Linked DNA regions of Homo sapiens: region 2 is linked to region 1. Evidence: promoter capture Hi-C in human tissues and cell types (Jung and others, 2019). All regions are on one chromosome and are shown on one strand. Each heading gives the region's core, a stretch centred on a gene start or on the middle of the fragment in contact. The rest is flanking DNA. Distances are from core to core; before and after follow the strand shown. Region 1 holds the start of PLEK (pleckstrin). Region 2 has its middle 31 kb from the start of GKN2.

Region 1 (7,584 bases), core at 1,975-4,474:
ATGATCTGATCTGGGAGAGGGATCTGACACAGCAGAAGAAAACTTGGTCAAACTCTGTTGAGAGAAGTCCTGAAAGGCGTCATTGATTCAGATAGTTCTCTTTACTGACCACTAGGTGTCGCTAAGTAGGCGCGATGACACGTGGCAGGAGGGGGAGGGGCAAAGGCGGCAGCATCCAGTCCATCAATGGCGATGTTCAGCAGATTCACAAATGCCGGAGGTTCCTTGGTGTCAAGACATTTTTACCCCTGCACCTATTCAGGCGCCTGGTACATACTAAACACTTAATACCATGTTTCTTGAAATGAATTATTCGGAACGCAGGGGGTGCTTTTACACCGGAGGCATCCAAAAATAATATGAGGTTTCTGAGTGAGGGTTCTTTAAAGCCTTCTGATCATGCTAGGACAAACAGTGAAGACATTCCAAATTAGAAGTCACTTGGTCAGTTAAACAAAAGGAGATATATTTAACTATGAAATCAGACTTGGTAAATCTAAGAGTGGTTTCCATTGACTATACAGACATAGCAAAATACTTGTTTGAGTGCAGATACAGAAAATTACCCTTTTATTTGTTCCTGTTTTGCTCAGGTGACATCAAACGTTGATCCCTCTACTCTCAGCCCCCAACACTTTATAACAATTTCTAATTAATTTTGGTGCAATGAGAAACTGAAAAGAAACCATCAACGATTTTAAGTAATGGATATTAGCATAAAATGAAAAGTGAGAAATACAGGGGCAGTGACTGTTAGCTAGAAACACAGCTGGAGGGAAGAGGAGAGGGAATCAGGAAGCTCTCAGAAAACCCCAAGAACAGAACTTCTTCTTTCCCCTAACTTTCCTGGCTCCTCAGATGCCCTCGTGGACGTCTGTCAGTTTTGCCTTTCTCGGAGCCATCGCTCATCTATTGTTAATAGCATCTTGATTTTACTTTAGGGGACACCTCCCTTCTCCCATTGAGCATGGTCCTGCTGGGGCTGTCGGTTCACATGTTCCCCCTTCAGATACCGGAGAGAGAAGCACTAGGCCAAGTTAGGCCAATCAGAGGCCTGATCCCTGGAGACTACTGCAGAGTCTGAAAACCACTGGCATTCTTTCATCTTGGTGTCTTGCTTCCTGGAACCCCACAACTGCCCTGATTCCTGTCCTTTCAAAGACCCCAGTCTTCATTTTTCCTGCAGTCTGTGGGCCACTCCATTCTCTTCCAGTAAATTCCTATTTGCCTCTATTAGCCAGAGTTGTTATCTGTTGATTGCAGTGAAAGAACACTGACGGGTGTAATGAGGAAAATCTAGTCCTACGATTGCTTTCATCATCTCTGTTGAACTTATCATTGAAAAGGATCAGCTCTAGGATAACGGAGATTTGCCTTGAAGATGAAGAACAACTAATATTTATGGATACTAGTTATGTTTCAGACACTCTTCTAAATACTTCCATGTCTATCTCATTTAATCTTCAGAATGACCTCATTGGATAGGTGTTATTATCCCCGTATTACAGATGAGAAAACTGAGGCACAAAGTAATAACAAACTTGCTCATTTTCACATGGTCAGATTAACGGGTCTCTAAGTTTATTCTATGGAATATTCGTTTTTCAGGATTATATTGGTTTCCTGGGGCTGCCATAACAAAGTACCACAAACTGGTGGCTTAAAACAATGGAAATTTATTGTCTTACAGTTCTGGAGGCCGTAAGTCTGAAATCAAGGTGTCGTCAGCACCATGTTCTCTATAGCAACTCTAGGAGAGAATTGTTGCGTGCCTCTTCCAGCTTCTGGGGGTTGCTGGCCATCCTTGGCGTTCCTTGGCTTGTAAATGCATCACTCTGTTGTCACATGGCTGTTTTCTGTGTGCCCTTTTCTTATAAGGACACCAGTCACATTGGATTAAGGGCCCACTTGTTTCAGTATGACCTCATCTTAACTAATTATATCTACAATGACCCTATTTCCAAATAAGGATGCATTCTGAAGTGCTAAGGGTTAGGACTTCTTTTTTGGGAGATCTAATTCAATTTATGACAAAAAAAGTTAACATAAATTGTTCAAAAAAGAATGCTATGGCGAAGTAAGTTTGGAAAACACCATTATAGGATTCTTTACTGTAGTACTTTGGCGGGGCGAAGGTCTTTAATTTGTTCATCATTTAGAGGAGTTGCCAACCTGGGATTATTTTGTAAAGTTTCTCAAAAACCTGTTTGATGATGGACTTCTTTTTACAGGCTGACTGTGAGATCAGCACTCAACGTGGAACACCTGTTCTCATGCCTGATGTGAGGCAGTGGCACCCTAGCACATCCCTCCCTGGTTCTTCTGCTTTCCCCTGTGACCTGCAGCGTCAACTTGAGACAACTTTTCTTCTCTGAGCCTGAGTTTCCTTACTCTAAGATAAGGAAAATAATATACTTTCCCTATGGGTTTGATGTGTGGACTCATTTTTGTTGTTGTTTGTTTTGAGATGAAGTCTTTCTCTGTCGCCCAGGCTGGAGTGCAGTGGACCAATCTCGGCTCACTGCAACCTCCGCCTCCCAGGTTCAAGTGATTCTGCTGCCTCAGCCTCCCGAGTAGCTGGGACTACAGGCACACGCCACCATGCCCGGCTAATTTTTGTATTTTTAGTAGAGACAAGGTTTCACCATGTTGGCCAGGCTGGTCTTGAACTCCTGACCCCAGGTGATCCATCTGCCTTGGCCTCCCAAAGTGCTGGGAGTACAGGCGTGAGCTACCATGCCTGGCCGATGTGCAGACTAATTTAGTTTAAAATAAGTAGGCTGAGAAACACTTGATACAGGGCTTGGCATAGAGAGAAGTAGGCATTCATTTAGTAGTTAACTTTGTTATGCTAACCAGATGGTTCTGAATTTCTTGGCATTTTTATTGGGCATTTCCAGGATCTCAAGAATAATCCTTACTCAGGACAATTTTCACCAACAAGTTTTTCTTGTTCATCTTCCTCTTCCTTTCATCACTTCTTTTTCTCTTTAAAAGAGGGATTTTCTGTATGGTAGTAAGAATTTCCCTTAGGTAAATATTCAACCCAACTGTGGTTTTAATAAGTCTCCAGCATTAGCAAGGAATGGGTGGTTTACTCTGCAGTTCCTTATTCTGATCTTCCAACCCAGTGAGGGGAAGAGGATGTGATCATGCGACCGCCAGCAGAAGGGAAATTGTGAAAGCGACCTGCTGTAGAAAAGGCGGCCCACAGCCACCTCAGCATGCAGAGGAGGCCCAGCTGCTGAGAGGAGTTGCCTGAGAGTGACCTTTGCATCTGCCTGTCCAGCCAGCATGGAACCAAAGCGGATCAGAGAGGGCTACCTTGTGAAGAAGGTGAGCGAAGGTGCCACTTACCAGGGTGTCAGTGGACATGGGCTGGGGAGACTTGGGTTCAGCTCCACCGGCTACCTGCTCATCTTAGGAATGTTTCCTGTTCAACCAGTTGGGTTGAAATAGGGGAGCGTGGTAGCACATAGAATGTTGGAGTGGGGTTAGGGGAGTGGGGATACTCATCCAGCCCCGGCTTCCTTACAGTTTGATATTACGGGTCTGAGAATTCCAGATGGCAGGGCCTGGAAGGTGGGGATCTAAGCTAACTCCCTCCAGATTTAGAATATCCTTTTTAAGAGGCACACAGATGTGTTCTGTCAGAAGATATACTCCTCTTCTATGGAGGTTTCTTGGAGGGACTATTCATTTTTTATTTAAATTCCACTTCCCCTCAGTTCTTTTTTTGGGAGGCAAGGGGAAAAAAGTGATTAAAGAGTTGATATAATGATAGAGTAATTACGGCTTATTTCTTGGGCCATCTTCTTGGAATTGACACGTTTAAAAAAAACCTTATCTTTTTTTAATTGGGCTGAAATCTCTTCACTCACAATTCTTAGTAAATTTGCATAATGTGGCATCGAGGTGGTAGATGCACCATTTTAAAGATTAGGGTACTGAAAAAGGCTTAGCCTCCCTGGTGTGCATCATGAAAATTGAATTTTCTTAGTGCTGTTTGTCTTTCTTCGGATGCTGAGTGTGTGCTGTGTGGTTGTGAAAGCTCCCCGGGATGTGAATTCACACATAGGACTTGGTGTCCTGTGGGCAACACCTATATACACAGATATGCTCACACTAACCTTAGTGAGTGGATTGTTTCAGAAATGAGCTGAACGTAGTGCCTTCCTTCAGGTGCTTAGCTTTTTAGTTGAATGAACAGTGAATGTGAGTCTGTTTTAGGCTACTCATTTGTTTCACGTTTTAACCTACAATGTTCTACCTGTAAGGGGGGTTAAATAGCACACATTGCTGCCTGCTTCCATTTTGACTTCAGGCTGGAGGGACCCTAGGTCATCTGGCCTAATTCCTTCATTTGCAGAAGAGGAGACAGACCCAGAAGGCTCGGTGATTGCCCCAAGTCACATGGCTATGACAGTTGTGACCAGCCACTCCTTCTCTGATGCTTAGGTTTCTGATTCATGGCACTGAACTTTGTTCATTACTCCAGCATTTTCTTAAAGCAGATTTATTCCAAGTTAGGATTTGTAGTGTATTTGTGATGGTGAGAGCTATGAGTTGGTACTGGAGAATAAGTGGGCCCTCAGCTGCTAATCTCTGTAGCCAGCTGTGCTTCGAAACATCCTTTGGAAAAGACACACTTATACATAGAAGTGTAAAAGATTACTTGCAATAGGCACCAATAATAATTGGCGAGACCTGGTAATAATTAATATTGACTTATTCCTTTCCTGATCACTTGTGCTAGTATCCTGAGAAGAGCAAGTGAATAGGAACATTTCTGCAAGTTTTTGTTTGTTTTTTTAAACAATTAAAAACATCTTGCAATGAAAATTGCTGTTATAAAGTTTGTATGCTCATATTTTAATCTCCCTAAATTACAAAAATATGAAGACTAAATTTCTAATAAGTGAAGCTGTCTCACTAAAAATTGGGGATGATAGAGTCAGGGTTGTCAAGCATGTGGATTTAAATTAATAAATAGTTTTTAATTAGTGAGAGTAGTTCTCTCAGATTGTAAAAGCCAATCTAGAAAATGTGCCTGGAATTAAATAGTGAAATTTTGTATTGATAGTTTTACAATTTATATCTTCCATAATTTTCATGTTTACAAGTTACATCTTCCATAATTACTGCATTTTTCTCTGGGACCTTTTGAACACTCTGATATAATGCATTAAGATTCTCTTTTTTTTTTTTATTCTTCTAAAACTTTAATTTTAGGTTCAGGAGTATAGGTACAGGCTTGTTATATAGGTAAACTCCTGTGACAGGCGTTTGTTGTACAGATCATTTTGTTACCTAAGTACTATGCCTAGTATCCAATAGTTATTTTTTCTGATCCTCTCCCTTCTCCAACCCTCCACTCTCACATAGCTTCCAGCGTCTCATTTGATATTTTAAAGAAATGTTTGGTCCAGAAATATTCCCTTTTTCAGCTGCAGAACTAAACCTAAAGACAGAGTTTCCTGAGAAGGTATTAAAGTTCTTAACTACTTTAGACATTAAGTTTCCTTCAGTTACCTCACGTGTGGGTTAAAAACTGTATATGTCAAGAATCTGACATATAATTGGTGTACATAAGCTGCATAAGACACTGATTATTTGTATCAGCATCAATATATGCTTCAGTAGATAGTGGGGCCTCCCCTAGATGTTAATGGGGCTATGTACTGGTTCCTGGGTTGGTTGCCAAATTAATTATGAAGGAAGGGCCATAAAAATCTTTGAAAAGGCTCTTAGAAGCCTTGGCTATGGTTTTTGATATTAAAGCATGAAAAATAATATAGTGAATCTTCCTCCATTCACCTTTTTCTCTTATGCAGTTCAAGATACCTGGGTAGTAACAGAGAACATCTTTGTCCTGTGTCTTGTTTTATGAAATAATTTTATTGCAGATAAGTTGTTTTGGGTGGAAAAAATATAGCATTAGAAAATGCTGGTGCAGGAATTTTGTCAGGTCAGAAATCTTGGGGTCAATAGTGTTAACTGTAAAACGTTTCTGCTTTTCTTCTGTGCAAGATGACTGTTGACATTTCACAATCCAGGTTTCCTCTTTTGCCTCCTGAATAAGATCTCCAAATGAAGACAGTGGTTAAGAGGGGGAGGGAAAATACAAGATTCTGTCATTTTCCAGCTTTTTCATTCCAAGTAACACCCATGTCTCTTTGCCTCAGAGTCTTTCACCTTACTTTTTTGTTTTAAAAAAGAGCACTTCTAGCCAACCATGGAGCAGCAAGCTGCTATACGAACATGACTTCATTTAATCCTAACCACCCTATGTGATCCTCATCTTACAGATAAGAAAACTGAGGTTCACAGAGAATAAGTGATTCGTCCACAGTGAAACATGTGGCAAGAGGATGACCTGGGATTCAAATCCCGGCCTGCCTAACAGCAAAGCCTACCATCTCATTGATCCCAGGCAGCATTCTGAAAGGCAGGCTTGCCCTGGCCTGCAAAAGAACTCACTAGAGCCAGAGCAAGGCACGAACAAATTGTTTTGTGGGCAAGATTAAGTTTAAAAACCTCAGCCTCCTTTCCTCTCTGTTTAGGGGGTTTCTTTCTGGCCAATAAACATGTTTGGAAGGTACTCGAATACCTACTACTGAATTAGATATGTTCATCATCATAACTGGAAAAAATGAGAGAAGAGCAAATTATATGCTCTGCATAACCTAGACTCCTCCAAGTCATGTCTCAAACCAGCCTAATTCCTAGAGGTTTATGGAGCAAGCTGTTGTTTCCAGGACAACCAACCTCACAAGCACTTGGCGCAGCAGCGCTGACTCAGAAAGTGGCTGAGGGATTTGGATGTCCTTTGAGGCTGGGAGAAAGCATAGGAATCAGGGTGATGGGAAAGGGAAGGGCAAGCAGCAGGGACAGGAAAGGAAAGGGCTGCAGAAAGCTGTGGTAGAAGTGGAAGAGAGCCCGAGAGTCAGGGTCCTGGCCCAGGAGTTCTTTCCTGGATCTACCTTGTCTTCTAGGCAGCATGAAATAATCTGAAGCGATTTGTGCCTACTGATTCATCATCACTGTAACAGCTAACGCATGTGGTGTTTACCCTGAAGCAGGAACAGTTCCAAGCATTTCATGCCTTAATGCATTTATACAGCATACTTAAGACAACTCAACAAAATGGGGACAATTATTATCCTTACTTAACAGATAAGGAGATTGAAGTACAGAGAGGCAAATGGCCTTGTCCAAAGTCACACAGTTAATAAGTGGCAGAGCTGGTTTGCAACCCAGCAGTGTGGCCCCAGTATCACGCAGAGCCTAACCACTTTCTATGTGGCCCTCGTGGGCTCGTACTGCAGTGACATTCTTTTCCAAAGCACTGTCACCATGATGAGGGGTACCCAGGGGAACATTATGCCAGAGCGACTCCACAGTGTTGCCTACAAAACCGTACTCTTTTTTTTTTTTTTTTTTGAGATGGAGTTTTGCTCTTGTTGCCCAGGCTGGAGTGCAATGGTACGATCTCGGCTCACTGCAACCTCCGCCCCCAAAACCGTACTTTTACCTGTTTCTATGGTCGCCATTTTTCAAATGTATACTACATGCTGGCCACTG
Region 2 (7,584 bases), core at 1,429-3,928, 560 kb after region 1:
TTGCAACAATTTCCTGGAAACCCAAAGTTTCTTTGAGACAAGACTCTCCTAAGTAATGGGAGTATTGATCTCTGATAACAAGACATCTAACTCATAATAGCATATTGGGGATGTTGTAAGGGAACTAAGGAAGGGGGTCTTGCCCCCTCTTCCTGTCTCCCAGTTTTCTTTCACGGGTTATTACATGCTAGCACATAGCTTCCTCAACAGTTCCTAGGCATGTCCTACTGCCCAAGCCCAGGGCCACTTCCGTCCCTTCTCTGAAATGGCAGTTTTGCCAAGGTTACAACCGTCAGCGCCCAGAAGGTACTCCAATAAGACAATAGGCGCAGTTGTGTCATCTCATGAGTCAGAGCTTCCAAGATCCTGCCCCAATCAGATTGCTGATAAGCACATTCCTGAAAGTTAGGCAGATCACTGAAATGTTACCAAAGTCTTGACTTGGGCGTAACACTATAACACTATTTGGATGCCTTCATGGAAGCAAGGGGGCCAACGGCTGGCCACTTTTCATTTGGAGAGAGAAAAAAATGATCAGGCTGTTTGGAGTTTTCAATTGAATAAAAAAATTAGAAATAAGAGAATTCAGCTTTGTAAAAGACTATGTCAACTACCTAACAAGATGGGGTGGACTGGGAACCCGAGCTGCCAATTTACCTGGAATGAACTTCAGAAAGAAGTGGGGTAGATCAAGCCATTGAGGTTGGGTGCACATAGAGAAAAAAATAAGTAGCTCAGGATAGATACAAGATGCTGCAAGATAACGTGTGCTAACATACTGTGCCTACTCAGAGGTTCCTGCTTTAGAGAAAATATTAAGGACAAAAGAAAAGGCACAGAAACATCCAGGGAAACTGAGCCAGAAGGAGAAGAGCTAACAGGAGCACAGCGGGATCAGGGCAGTTGGTGTCCTGGAAGGCAGGAGTCCTGGGTTCCTGGATGTATATAAAAATGCAGGAGGTGAAGAAGGTGAGAGGAGAAGATCCGCAGGGTAGAAGAGGGAGGAGGTTGAAAACAGCCATAGAAAACAGATGAATATAATCATAATTGAATATAGAGATGGAAAACAAGTGGCACATGCATGAAGAAGGCCAGGCGTCCTCATGTGTATCTGACTGAATGGAAAGAGCTAATGAAAAACAACCAAACCAAGCAACAATATGAGAAGGAGAGTTTGTATGTGGGCCATAATGATGTGATTGGGTTACTGACTTATATTTTTTATTTGCTTAGAGATTAGGGGAAAAATACAAGTATATGGGCCAGGCACAGTGGCTCACGCCTGTAATCCCAGCACTTTGGGAGGCTGAGGCGGGCGGATCACCTGAGGTCAGGAGTTCAAGACCAGCCTGGCCAACATGGTGAAACCCTGTCTCTGCTAAAAATACAAAATTAGCCAGGCATGGTGGCACAACCCTGTAATCCCAGCTACTCGGGAGGCTGAGGCAGGAGAATCGCTTGAACCCGGGAGGCGGAGGTTGCAGTGAGCCGAGATCACGCCATTGCACTCCAGCCTGGGCAACAGGGTGAGACTCCATCTCAAAAAACAAAACAAAACAATCTACTCTGTGTCAGGTACTATTTTAAATATTAGACACTAGAACTACAGCAGAGAACAAAACAAAGTCTCTAACCTCACAAAGTTGATAATTAAGTGACATAAATATCCAATTTAATGTCCTGATCAGACAACTGTACAAATAGATATAACACAACAAAAAATATAAATAGCCAAAGTAAGGTACAGGCAAGGAACTGTGATGATTCCAACTTCTTTAATAACTTCTTTAATAATTCAATAACTATTGAGTTTGTGGTCTGTGCATGGTGTTTTTGAAGTACTGAGAGCAATAGAGATATGAGTATGATATTATCTGAGCCCTGGGTGACCTATAGCCCCCTAAATGCAACTGCTTGATGTTCCTGTGGCCAATTTTTATTAGGCACTGTAAGGACTGAGCTGTCTGTCTTTCCTCCTTGGGTCATTCCAGTGCCCAGGCTTGCCCATACAGAGCACATGTTCTCAGAAGAAGTGTCTGTTTGGTTCTGGCCTTCTGGAATTTGATCCAGGTAGCTGGGCCACCGCTAGTCAGAGCTTGAGGAAAAAAAAAAAAGATAATGTATGAAAAGGCCTAAATTCATGCTTGACTTATTATATAAAGGCAATATTTTCCTATGTCTCAGGACTTCCAGGGCTAGTCAAAATATTCTTTATGGAAAAACGTGCCCTGAAATGAAAGGTCAGAGGAGAGAAACAAGCCATGTAGCAGGAGCAAAATATCAGGACATCAGGAAAGTCCACCAGGGTGGATGTTTGAAGAAGTGAAATGAGGTCAGCTTGGTGGGTAGACAGAGGGCAGCGCAGGGACAACCACATGATTTTTGGTTTGGATGAAGAGCGGGACCAGATTGCTTTTCAATCAGTCTAATTGTGTAGTTCAGCCTGTCTCTTTTGGTTTCATGAGGTTTGTCTCAATCACTCACACTGTTAGTAAAAACACTTTTAGGGAATTGAGAAGTAGAAACAGTGAGCTCATTGATTTTTATATCAGAACCATTTTGTGAGATCAATGTTTGCAATGTTCACCTTAGTTGCTAAGGTCATGGGCATACCAGCCCACAAAGATTTGCTCATATGCCATGTTTATCTTGGAACCAATGTTTACCTTGGTATCAGGGTAAAGAGAAATACTCAGATGTAGTTAAAGAAAAGCAATAACTGTGATTACATAAACTTGCGTTTTTTCCTCCCTGAATGGTATCCGGATCATAGGAAACTACCCAGAACGCCTTATCATGGCAATAGTTGAAAGGCATAGGACTATATAAAACAGATTTAGAAAATAAATGGGACATAGAAAATTCTTCTATGCATGCTGTTGTGTGGGGTATGAGACACCATGAAACACCTTGTAAGTATATTTTCTAATTTCAAATGTAGGTGATTATGTTCTCAGAGCCAAAATAGCCAGGGAGAAGTTCTTTTTTCCCCATGGACTCTTCAAATTAAACTCAAGGGGAATTTAGAATTTTCAAATATTAATTTGAAAAAACATAGCCTCTCTGTTTTGGAACATCTGAACAAAGAGTCTCTCCCAAAGGAAGTAATAACTAAGTTCTTAAAGGTCCAGAATCCTTGGGGGTTACATAGATATTCATATTTTAGGGTCCTCTCTTCCTAGACTTGTCTTATTTACAAATTTCCAGTGAAGGAAAGTTTCAAATATATTTAATATATACCAACCCTAATAGTTTCATAAAATAGTGTTGCTATTTGCAGCTCATATATTTCCTCTATTAGCCTTACAGCATCATGATGATTATTCATAGAGTAGCTGTTTTCTTTTCTTTTGTATATGTATCTTGCCTTTGTTTGCTTTCGTTGCATGTGGGATATTGCGGGGTGGGGGAGAAGGCGAGTTCCTGAGCCTTCAGTAGACCAGATGAGAATGAGGTATGGAATGTGGGGAAACATTCATTGTGCACTTTCTCACCTTGTCCTGTTTCTGCTCCCACCAATTCTCTCTGACTTACTCTCTGATGCTTAAAATTCCCTCAACAAGCAAGTAGGCCACACTGAGAAGAAATGATTAACTGCAAATATTTCAATAATTAGTCACATTTAATTAGCACAATCTATTTCAAAATAAAGTGCAAATAAGTGGTTCACGGTCTTTTATTCTCAGGCAAAGTGGAGAATCTAGAGGAAAGGAAATCAGGAGGATATCAGTTTCCAGAGAGGGCAGAGAGGGAGTCTCAAATGCTTGGAAAGAGAGAGGAAGGTGCAGAAAAACAAGACTGAGAACCTGAGTTATCATCACTTATTTTACAATTTGGCCTGAGATGGTCCTTCCCCATGTGCGCATCAAGTGGTTGGTCAGGTTGCCTAATATTTAGCCCAGTGATTAGCAATACATGCAGAGTGAAGCAAAAGGTATCCTTGACTGAACTATATAAAGCTTTGTCTCCTGAGTAGCCAGCATATCAACCATACTGCGTGACAGTCTCCTGATACACTGGGTCCCCCATGCCATGAAAGAGGATGGGAGTTAGAGATCATTAAAAGAAGGCTCCAGCCCCAGCAGGGCTTGGGGCTCTGGACTCTGAGCTCACCTGAAGCTAAGGCAAAAATGCCCTGATATTTGTTTTCATTTCAGGTTGCATCTTCCATCCTTGGGGTCTTCGTCCTAACCCCATCCCTGGCCATGATGGTGAGTAAGGATGGAAAGAGTTCAACCTGTCTAGTCCTCCTTTAGCAGAAGCATTTTAAAAGGTGATAATTAAGGGCAACCTCCTCAAATTTCCTGTGGGTACCCGTAAAACCTACAAGGCATGGGCAAAGTAGGAACTCTGAACTTTCAACTTTTCTCACTGTTGCTTGGTTTTCTCCAGAACATCCGTTTCAACCATCCTTTGTATGGATCTTTTGGGACTCAAATTATCCATATTGGTGCCTTCCAAGGTATGGTCAGCATCCGAGACAACAATATTTTCAGTGAATAGGACGGAATCCTGGACTACAAGAATATAAGATGAGAAACACATTCATTACAATGTGAAAGAAAGCCACGTCTGGTCCAAAATGTAGCCTTATGCTTTTCCAGAGAAAGAGGACATTCGCCTTCTCTAGGTTTAGGTCCTTGATGGGCATGCACATCATTAGGTAAGGGAACAGCTTCCCTGCAGTTGCAGTGACTTCTTTTTGAGCCAAAAAATATAGGGGGAATTCCAGCTGGTCTATAGGGATCCTACATCCCCTATGTTCCTGTGAGGTGTTGACTTCACACGGCCACCGAAGGCCTCTGATCTCAGAAGCCCCCATGTCTTGTAACTGGTATGTGCTGTAGAAGTTATTTTGTCTTGACTTCTGATTTTAATGTTAATTTCCAAAGAAGAAGAATGTTGTATTTTCATTTTTAGAAATCTGACTGCAACTTGCCCATCACTTTCAATGGTAAGACCTAGCAGAAAGACACAATATTGAGAAGGCTCCACCTGTGTGCTTGGCCTGGCTGTCTGATAGAAAAGCACTATAACCACAGGGACATCACTCGGCCTCTGTGTGCCTCAGTTTCCTCCTCTGCAAAATAGCATCAATAGCTACCATTCCTACCTGGCAGGACTCTGAAGGGTTAAGTGAAGCAGAAGCCCACACTTCTTATTCTGTCCTGCAAGGCCCTGTCCCATCTGGCCCCACCGTCTTCCATCTGGCCCCACTCCCACCCACATCCATGACATTCCCTCCAGCCACTCCGGACACTTCAGGATGGGCACCTCAGGCACAGGCTTTCTCTCTGCTCCAGTCTGTATCTTCTGTGCTCCCTTCCCTGACCATGTTCCTCGCTAGTCACCTAACCCACTCCTGATTTCCTCAAGGAAATGTCCCCTGAATCCTGCTAGAGGGCACACAGTCTACACAGGCTAGTGATTTTCAACTCTGCTCTATGCCATGGAGACTTTTCTTCAAACAAAAATATTCCACGGTAGTCTATGACGTGGAACAGAAGAAGCCAGAACTACTCTGGCTGGAGGAGGGAGATGCAGGCGAACCTTAGGCACAGTCAGACACAGCTGAAGAACTGCTGCTCTACTCCAGGCTGTGAGAGGCCAGAAGACAGGCCCAGGGACTCATGGAGGGGGATGGTCAGTGGCAGACCTAGGGCTAGAATCTGAGTCTAGAGGGCCTGGCCCAAGGTTCCTGACAACCTTGTACATTCAGAGAGCACTCCATAATTTTCACAGTGCCCTCACAAGCTCTCACAAGCAGTTAATTTCTCTTCTCATCTTCACAGCAACCCTGTGGGAGAGGGGCTATTATTATTTCTGCTTTCAGATGAAAAAACAGAGGATCGTGGAGCCCACTGAGGACCATGATGGTTGCTAAGTGGCAGAACAGGACCTGCAATCAGCCTTATTATTAGATCCAACCCCCTATCCCTCCCATCCCACCTGTCCATTCATTGTGTGCAGAATGCCCTGAGAGATTCCTTTCCTCACCCACATCAGGGGACAGTGCCAAAAGCCCCGGGAGCATCAGGGCTCTGAACGTGTTACCAGTCCTGATGCTGGCCTTTTTTTGGTGCCCAGAGTGGCACTCTGCTGGATGCTGTACATCAGTCAGAAGAGCAGCTGTGCCACACTGATAGAGAGTGGGTGTCCATTAATATTGTGACTGCATGAATGACGTGTTTCTGCTGTGTTGCTTTAAGGCCCTTTTGGTGGCTAAGGTATTTAACAAGATGGCCTGTGTCCTGGCCAGGATGGACAAGGCAGTCTTCCCAAGTTTGGATGACATTAGCAAGGCCCTGGACAAGCAGGTAAGTGAAGCCAGTTCACTGTGGTTTCCTTTTAGTTTGGTGTTTTCCACCTCTGCATCCAACCTCCTAGGACAAGGCTGTGCACACAGAGAGACTTGGGTCACGCTTGTTCTTCATGCCCATGAAATTCCACCATCATACCAAGGACTCCAGGTGCTGTTGATGGCTCATTCAAGTCAAGTCATAATTTAATCAAATAAAAGTTCTATACAGTGATCTCATTTTGATGAATTCCAGAAGGGTTTGAGCTACATGTTAGTGAATATAAATTGTTGAATGTAAATATTAGAGTGAAGTAATAGAATATTCACATTCCCCTACCTTCTTTCTCCTCTACCTAACCCCTAAACATATCCACACATATTCTCTTCAGTTGAAAATAAGCCCAGGACTGCTGAAGCTCTCTTCCCCTCAGCTTCTTAAATGACAAAAGTAGTCCAGTAAGTTAAAAACCAGCGAGTGGTCCTGGGCAAGTCATTGAAATCTGCTGTCATTTGCTTAAGTAGCCTGCACAGCACATTTGGCCGACACTGATATTCATGGCAGGAGTTGCTGACTCTCAGGGGGGAGAAAAAGATACACTTCAGGTCACATAAAAATAAGGTAACTTACCAATTTTTTAAAGAGAAAAGCTGAAAGTATCCCATCTGATTTAACAAGCAAAAACATAATATAATGCAACAAAAAAATTTAAAGCATTCTATATTTTCATTAGAGATGAGAAAGCATCGAAGACCGAATGAATTATTAAGTTTAAAAGGTTGAAAGGAACGGACAGGAAAAGTCACCTGAACGCACAGGCAGATTTTTCTGGAGTAATGTCATCACCTTGTGGCCAGACAGGATATTGCTGTTAGAGACTCCAAGAGCCTGTTTGGGTTCGGAGCTATTCTGGTCAATTTTATCACCCCATGCACTGCCTCCACTTACTCATGGGCCAGGGTCTCAGATCCTTTTTGTCCTGCTTCCTGTGCCACCCCCAAATGCTGTCTCATCATTTTGATGTGCCACCCCTTCCAGGCTTTTAAGTATTACCCGTCTACTCGCGGCCTGACTTACACTGTTTTACCCAGCTGGGTCAAGAACTTAGCACAGTATGGAAAGCCCATTAAGAACATGTGCAGAGATGACCCCACCTACTTTGCCCAGCAGCAAAAAGAAGGTGTGTTAGCAACTTAACTAGAAACCCAAGACCATGGGTGAGTCAAAAGGCACAGTATGAATTTTCGGTCATTGACAAATTCTAATAACAGTTGTTGGGTTTGTT

Evidence for each region. Contacts are between HindIII fragments. The study calls those that stand out against the background at their distance.
Region 2: a contact is called between a fragment that was not itself captured here and the fragment with the promoter of PLEK in region 1, in 1 of the 25 tissues and cell types used here (IMR-90 fibroblasts).

The regions. Positions count from the first base shown.
Region 1 is chr2:68,362,058-68,369,641 of GRCh38, forward strand. It overlaps PLEK (pleckstrin), which reads left to right and starts at 3,225. Exons shown (of 9, transcript NM_002664.3): 1 at 3,225-3,336. The coding sequence starts at 3,295. LOC101927723 (a long non-coding RNA gene) reads right to left here and starts at 4,347. Exons shown (of 2, transcript NR_187652.1): 1 at 3,358-4,347; 2 at 1-402. RefSeq lists enhancers at 184-253, 3,185-3,264. The HindIII fragment of the contact is 28,571 bases long and covers 1-7,584 here.
Region 2 is chr2:68,918,348-68,925,931 of GRCh38, forward strand. It overlaps the pseudogene GKN3P. Among named protein-coding and RNA genes, the nearest start is that of GKN2, 31 kb to the right of the region's middle. The HindIII fragment of the contact is 7,656 bases long and covers 1-6,506 here.